Regions from separate parts of the Homo sapiens genome. Here region 1 is linked to region 2. The links are contacts of gene promoters, found by promoter capture Hi-C in blood cells and fetal thymus (Javierre and others, 2016). All regions are on one chromosome and are shown on one strand. Each heading gives the region's core, a stretch centred on a gene start or on the middle of the fragment in contact. The rest is flanking DNA. Distances are from core to core; before and after follow the strand shown.

Region 1 (3,759 bases), core at 306-2,805, 400 kb after region 2:
GGCTGGGGTGCAGTGGTGCGATCTCCACTCACTGCAACCTCCGCCCTGCCAGGGTTCAAGCGATTCTCCTGACTCAGCCTCCTAAGTAGCTGAGACTACAGGTGTGCACCACCATGCCTGGCTAATTTTTGTATTTTCAGTAGAGACAGGGTTTCACCATGTTGGCCAAGCTGCTCTTGAACTCCTGACTTCAAGTGATCTGCCTGCATTGGCCTTCCAAAGTGCTGGGATTACAGGTGTGAGCCACTGCCCCCAGCCCCATTTATTGATTTTCAAACATGGAACCTATCTTGCACCTATCTTGCACTCATCTTGCACTCCTAGCATGAAATCCACTTGATCATGGTGTAATATTCTATTGTATTGCTGGTTTCAAATTGTTAATATTTTGTTGAAGATGTTTTCATCTATGCTCATGAGAAATATTGGTCCGAAGTTTTCTTTTCTTACACTATCTTTGTTCAGTTTGGTATCAGGGTATGCTGTCCTTATAAATGAGTTAGAAATTACTCACTCCTGTAATCCTAGCACTTTGGGAGGCCAAGGCGAGCAGATCACTTGAGGTCAGGAGTTTGAGACCAGCCTGGGCAACAGTGCAAGACTCTGTCTCAAAAAAAAAAAAAAAGCCGGGTGCAGTGGCTCACGCCTGTAATCCCAGCACTTTGGGAGACCAAGGCAGGCGGATCACCTGATGTCAGTAGTTCAGGATGACCCTGGCCAACATGGTGAAACCCTGTCTCTACTAAAAATACAAAAAAAAAAATTAGCTGGGCGTGGTGGCACATGCCTGTAATCCCAGCTACTAAGGAGGCTGAGGGAGGAGAACTGCTTGAACCTGGGAGGCAGAGGTTGCAGTGAGCCAAGACTGCACCACTGCACACTCCAGCCTGGGCAACAGAGCGAGACACTGTCTCAAAAAAAAAAGAAAAGAAAAATTAAAAAAGAAAAGAAATTACTCATTCCTCTTCTGTTTTCTGGAAGAGATTGTGTGGAAATAGTGTTATTCTTTTTTCAAATATTTGATAAAATTTACCTGTGAAATCATGTAGGCCTGAAGACTTCTTTTTTGAAGTGTTTTAAACTATGAATGCAACTTCTTTAATAGTTATAGGATTATTCAGTTTATGGATTTGATCTTGGGCAAGTGTTAGAATTTGATTTTTGAAGAATTGGTTCATTTCATCCAAGTTGTCAAATTTGTCAGCAGAGTTGTCTGTAGCATTCCTTTTATGTATTATGTATCTATTTTATGTTTTTGTAGTATTGTCCTTTTATGTTTGTTAGTGCTATTAATTGTTTATTTCATTCCTGATGTTGGTAATTTGATATTTTCATTTTAGCAGTCTATCAAATAAGTTGGGTTAAGGCCACAGGTAGTGACCAGCCGTCTCTGGGTGGTGGTTTCACTGTTTGTTCCATTTTCAAAGCCTTTGCAGTACTATTTGTTTTTGTTTTTGAGACAGAGTCTTGCTCTGGAGTGCAGTGGTGCAATCTCGGCTCACTGCAAGCTCTGCCTCCCAGGCTCAAGCGATTCTCCTGCCTCAGCCTCCCGAGTAGCTGGGATTACAGGTGTGCACCACCACGCCTGGCTAATTTTTGTATTTTTAGTAGAGACGGGGTTTCACCGTGTTGGCCAGGCTGGTCTCGAACTCCTGGCCTCAAGTGATCCACCTGTCTCGGCTTCCCAAAGTGCCAGGTTACACTGCGCCCGGCCCTTTGCAGTACTAGTTGGATCTGTTCCACATGTGTGCCAGCCAGTGGCCACAGGGACGTGGGTATTCATGCAGCTTTAAGTTCAGTTCTCAAAATCTTTAGTATGCTGTTTAGGATCAGATCCATCCATGTGCGGCTTGAACGTGAAGCCAGGAGTTCATGAAAACAACGTTATGGGGTCACTTTCCCAAGGTGTTCTCTTTCTGTGATTTCCTGTTTTTTTCTGGTTCTCTTGGGCTCTGTTTCAGTCCTCTGGCTGCCCACTTCCCACCACCACACCTATATCGGGGGCTAAGTGGTAGGAAGAGTGAGAGAAAAATGGAACAGGGGTTCCCTCACTTCTTGGGCCCAGAGCTCTTCCTACTGGTGTGCATGGATTCCTCTGAGTTTTTGGTACCTGCAGGCCTCTCATCGCCACTGCTATCACTGACAGGGGACCCTTTCCTCCTTGAGCCTGAACTAGAGGGCTTCTCCAGGAGTTTTCTCTGTCTGCTCACTTCTGGGTCTCCCCTGAGTCCACTCTAGAAGATACTGGAGGGAAAAAATTGTAACCTCACCACCTGTTTGGTGTTACCTCAGATTCTGGTCTTCTCTAGTCTGCTTGTGGCTACTTAATTTTCAGGGTGCTCAAATAGCTGCTCTGTGCATTCTGTCCACATTTTATTTTATTTTATTTTTGAGACAGAGTCTCGCTCTGTCACCCAGGCTGGAATGCAGTGGTGCCATCTCGGCTCACTGCAACCTCTTCCTCCCGGGATCAAGTGATTATCACACCTCAGCCTCCCCAGTAGCTGGACTACAAGCGTGCGCCACCACACCCGGCTAATTTTTGTATTTTTAGTAGAGATGGGGTTTCACCATGTTGGCCAGGCCGGTCTCGAACTCCTGGCCTCAAGTGATCGGCCTGCCTCAGGCTTCCAAAGTGCACGGATTACAGGCATGAGCCACTGTGCCTGGCCCTGTCCATGTTTCATAGCTGCAGAGTGAAACCTTCTCACTTAATCCTACCTGGAACTGGAACTGAGCAGAATTGGATTTTAAAAGACTCACTCTTGCTGTCCAGACTCTGGGAGGTCAGATAGTGAAACTGGGTTGGAGGCCAGGCAGATGGAGGGCAGTGGGCAGATGTGAAAGTGCTCAGGTCTGGCACTGACAGGATCTGCTGACAAGCTGCACATGAGGGATCAGGGAGGGCAGGACTCAAGGTGACACCCAGGTTCACTTCTTAGTCATCTGCCAGGTCTGGAAAGTGACCTGAGACCTTGGCTAGTACAGTTTCAAAGTAGTGAGTGGTGGGTCATATGCAGTGGGAAGAGGCCAGGAGAGAGGTTGAGGCTACAGGAGTGACAAAACAGCAATAAGGCTGGGTGCAGTGGCTCATGTCTGTAATCCCAGCACTTTGGGAGGCCGAGGCGGGCAGACCACTTGAGGTCAGGAGTTTGAGACCAGCCTGGCCAACATGGTGGAACCCTGTCTCTACCGAAAATACAAAAATTAGCCAGGTATGGTGGCACCCACCTGTAGACCCAGCTACTCGGGAGACTGAGACAGGAGAATCACTTGAACCCGGGAGGCGGAGGTTGCAGTGAGCCGAGATCATGCCATTGTACTCCAGCTTGGGCGACAGAGACTCTGTCTCAAAAAAAAAAGAAAAGAAAAGGAAAAAGAAAACAGCGATAAAACCAAGTCCCCCAGCAAGAGGGAGAAAATCACCCTTTGAAGCTGGCACTGCTTCAAAGGGGAGAAATGTCTCCACTGGAATCATTTGGGATTCATATGGCAGGGGGGACGCAGGGAGCGTGTAATGGCAGAGAGCTGAGGGGCTCAGCTGTGGATCTGGTTTTGTTCTATGCATGAGGAAGCAAGATCTTTTGCAGTGTGGCAGGAGGCAGCAGTGAAAATATACAGAGTAGCAAGGACGTCCCTGGGAGATGGGAGAGAAAGGTGGTGAGGGACTCACACAAAGGGGACAGGTACTGATCAAGGCCAGCAGATATTCTGGGTTTGAGGAGTGTGGTCTGCCTGGCTGGGAGGTGTCAACGCACA
Region 2 (3,350 bases), core at 528-3,027:
TTGAGGTCAGGAGTTCGAGACCAGCCTGGCCAACATGGTGAAACCCCATCTCTACTAAATACTCAAAAAAAAAAAAAAAAAAGCTGGAACTTGTCATGTGTGTGAACTGGCAAGTCAAGTCTATAAGAGGACTGTTTTTATATGATGCATGGAAAGCTAGCCAACAGACTGCAAAAATTCTCTCACATCTATACACATATTGCTGAAGAGAGGATTCAAGCAGGGATTATGTTCCAGGGAAGAGAAGGCTGGTCTGAACAACCTCAAGGGGTGCTTTCAACTGAGAGTCCTCAATTTTGTGATTCAGAGTTCACTGGCTTCTCCTGGTCAAACATAAAATCTTCAGAGGCATTTCCAACTTGTTCTTAGAAAAAAGCTACTAACCCATGGGGTGGGACCCAGTTTACTTATTCATTCAATAAACATTTAAGGTGCCTCTATCAGATATTGGGTCATTCCAAAGTCCTTGAAAAGAAGGATGGTGCACAGGACAACCAGGAAGAGATTATGTAAGGTCAGATGCATTGGCCTTATTTACAGGAGATGTAGGCTAAAGTGATGGAAGTGTCAAAAGAGAAGAAAAAAGTCACATTTGCCTTGAGAGCAGAGTCAGCACCAGAAAGATGCAGAACAACTCCTTGGAATCACAGACTTTCAAGTTGGAAAGGACCTTCATCTAATACCTATATACCTCCCTCGAAAGGAGGCACGGAGGCAATCCATTCACTCCATCGGTGGTCACCTCTGACGATTCTTCCATTTAAGTTCTTCTATTAAGCAAAAATCTTGCCTTCCTGTAGAATTCACCTGTTAGTCCTAGTTCTGCCTCTTTTAGCCTAAAGATGAAGTGGAAGCCCTCTTTGCCGTAACAGTATTTTCAATTTTTAAAAAGTTAATTCCCTTCCAGTGCTCTCTTTACTGAGCTAACCATTCCAGTTCTTTCAAAGTTCCTGAACTGGCACCAGCTGCCTCAAAGCGAAGAATGGATATCTAGTGCTCACAGCAGGAAAGCACTTAAAATCAATGAGCTTCAAACATTAGTATATACAGGACCCCCCTACGCATAAGTTCAGATTCTAAACCAGAAGTCTGAATTGAGTCCCGCGCTGTAAAGCCGGCATCTCAGAGAATTACAAAGCAGATGGTGTAAGAACCATATTTTGAAAAACACTGCCCCGTTTTAGAGACGAGAAAACTGAGGCCCAGCACAGGGAAGAGATTTGGCCCAGAACGCACAATTGTCTGTCGGTGGCGAAGTCTCGAATCCAGGTCTCTTACTTTCAGCCCAACTCTGTTCACCGCGCTCCCCGGCCTCTGCTTCTCCACTCAGGGCAAACTCGTGAAATGCACTCCCAGATGATAGAGGCGGTCTCGCACGGGGGATAGAATGGGAATCAGTGCCCATGCCTCGAAAGGAGAGCTTGTGGGAGCCCTTCTCTTTCGCAAGGCCTCAGTTTCCCCAATCTGTATTCATGGGACGCAGAACCACAACGCCAGCTCGTCCTCTTTTCGGGGACAGACACGACCGGTCTTGCTGTCTCTGGGCCCCTGGGCTCAGATGTTCAAGCCCGTGTGTCCTGGGAAGGCGGACCCGGGTCTCCCGCCCCCGTCCCTAAACTTTGGCGCCCCCGCCCCAACCCCAGCCCCTCACATACCTGCCTCCGCACAGTTAACGCCAGCCCAGTCAATCAGTTTTTCGGGTACACGGCCAATACTAACGCCGCGTCAATCTGTTGGGTAAGACCTCCGACCCCTCCTACGCGGACTCCAGTCACATGACGCGGAGCCGCCCCTCTCGGAGGGACTTCCGGCCCCAACCGGAAGAGGTTAATTTCCATGGCTGAAGCTCTAAGGTTCCGCCTGCGGGCAGGAAGCGGAGGAACCTTGGAGCTTCGGCAGCTTTTCAAAGAGCTTTGGGTTCGGGGCTCCTAAAAGAAAAAAACTGATTCCGGCCGGGCGCGGTGGCTCCCACCTGTAATTCCAGCAGTTTGGGAGGCCGCGGCGGATGGATCACTTGAGGTCAGGAGTTCGAGACCAGCCTGGCCAAAATGGTGAAACCCCTCTGTACTCAAAATACAAAAAGTAGCCGGTCGTGGTGGCGCACACCTGTAATCCCAGCTACTCGGGAGGCTGAGGCAGGATAATCGCTTGAACCCGGGAGGCGGAGGTTGCAGTGAGCTGAGATCGCACCACTGCACTCTAGCCTGGGCGTCAGAGTGAGACTCCGTCAAAAAAAAAAAAAAAAAAGAGAGAGAGAAAGAACTAACTCATTCCGGAAAGTACCAGATAAACTTGGAACATCTTGTTACACCAGAATATAAGGATGATGGTAATAAGAATCATGGGAATGTGTCAAAGAACACAGGAGCTGTCTTTAAGGAGATCTTACTGGCCAAGTCAGGGCAATTTCAGAATCAAAATATGGAGTGATAGTAATAGAGTATAACTAATTGAATAAAATAGTAATCCATGAGTCTTTACAAACATAAAGAAGTGAGCATATTAATGGGTGAAGGGAAAGTCTTCCTTTTAGTAGAATGCTAGCTAATAAACATGGTGGAATTAGGAAATCAATAATGTGTGGTAAAACTAGAGAAACGGGATGTTTACAACAGCAAAAGTGTCTCCCATAAATTAGCTATTGATTACAAAGGGAAAATGGTGATGTTACAGAGGTTTAACCTAGCAGAACAAACAGATCAAAGTGATCAAAGTTAACACCACTAGTTAATGGGTCAGATCAAGGGCCTCCTAATAAAATGCACTGAGAACACATCTGTGGTATTTCTGTCAAAAGTGCACCGTACACATCTCATGAGGAAGTGCTAGAGAACCCCAAATGAAGGACACTGTCTACAAAATAACTCATTGTCATGAAAAACAGAGAAAAGCTGAGGAACTGTTCCAGTTTAAAGGAGACTAAAGAAGCATGACAACAAAATGTGGTGTGTGATTCTAAATAGGACCCTGGACTGGGGTAGTGGTGGTGGTGGAATAGTTGTAATGGACAATATTGGGACAAGTAATGAAATTTGAATATGGATTGTGGATTAGCTGTTAATACATATTGTATCAAATCACATACTGATAGGTGATGGAGCTTGTGATTTGCACTCAAGCAGTCATTGGAGTTCTTGACAGCCATCTTCATTCATTCAACAAGCATTTATTAAGTACCTACAGTTATCCCAGGAACGGTTAGGGATCGGACCTGAGTAGGAGGTGAACATAGTAGATAAAGGCCGGCGCGGTGGCTCACGCCTATAATACCAGCACTTTGGGAGGTCGAGGCAGGCAGATCACCTGAGGTTAGGAGTTCGAGACCAGCCTGGCCAACATGGTGAAACTCA

What was found. The method cuts DNA at HindIII sites, captures the fragments that hold promoters and counts their contacts. A CHiCAGO score of 5 or more calls a contact.
Region 1: a fragment that was not itself captured here is called in contact with the fragment with the promoter of RNF185 in region 2 in 1 of 17 cell types (M1 macrophages); the score reaches 5.1 in M1 macrophages.

Annotation. Positions count from the first base shown.
Region 1 is chr22:30,757,033-30,760,791 of GRCh38, reverse strand. The region is part of intron 2 of OSBP2 (oxysterol binding protein 2); the gene reads right to left. Among named protein-coding and RNA genes, the nearest start is that of MIR3200, 27 kb to the right of the region's middle. The HindIII fragment of the contact is 7,351 bases long and covers 1-3,759 here.
Region 2 is chr22:31,158,609-31,161,958 of GRCh38, reverse strand. RNF185 (ring finger protein 185) reads right to left here and starts at 1,777. Exons shown (of 7, transcript NM_152267.4): 1 at 1,656-1,777. MIR3928 (microRNA 3928) reads left to right here and starts at 1,840; the gene lies at 1,840-1,897. The HindIII fragment of the contact is 23,924 bases long and covers 1-3,350 here.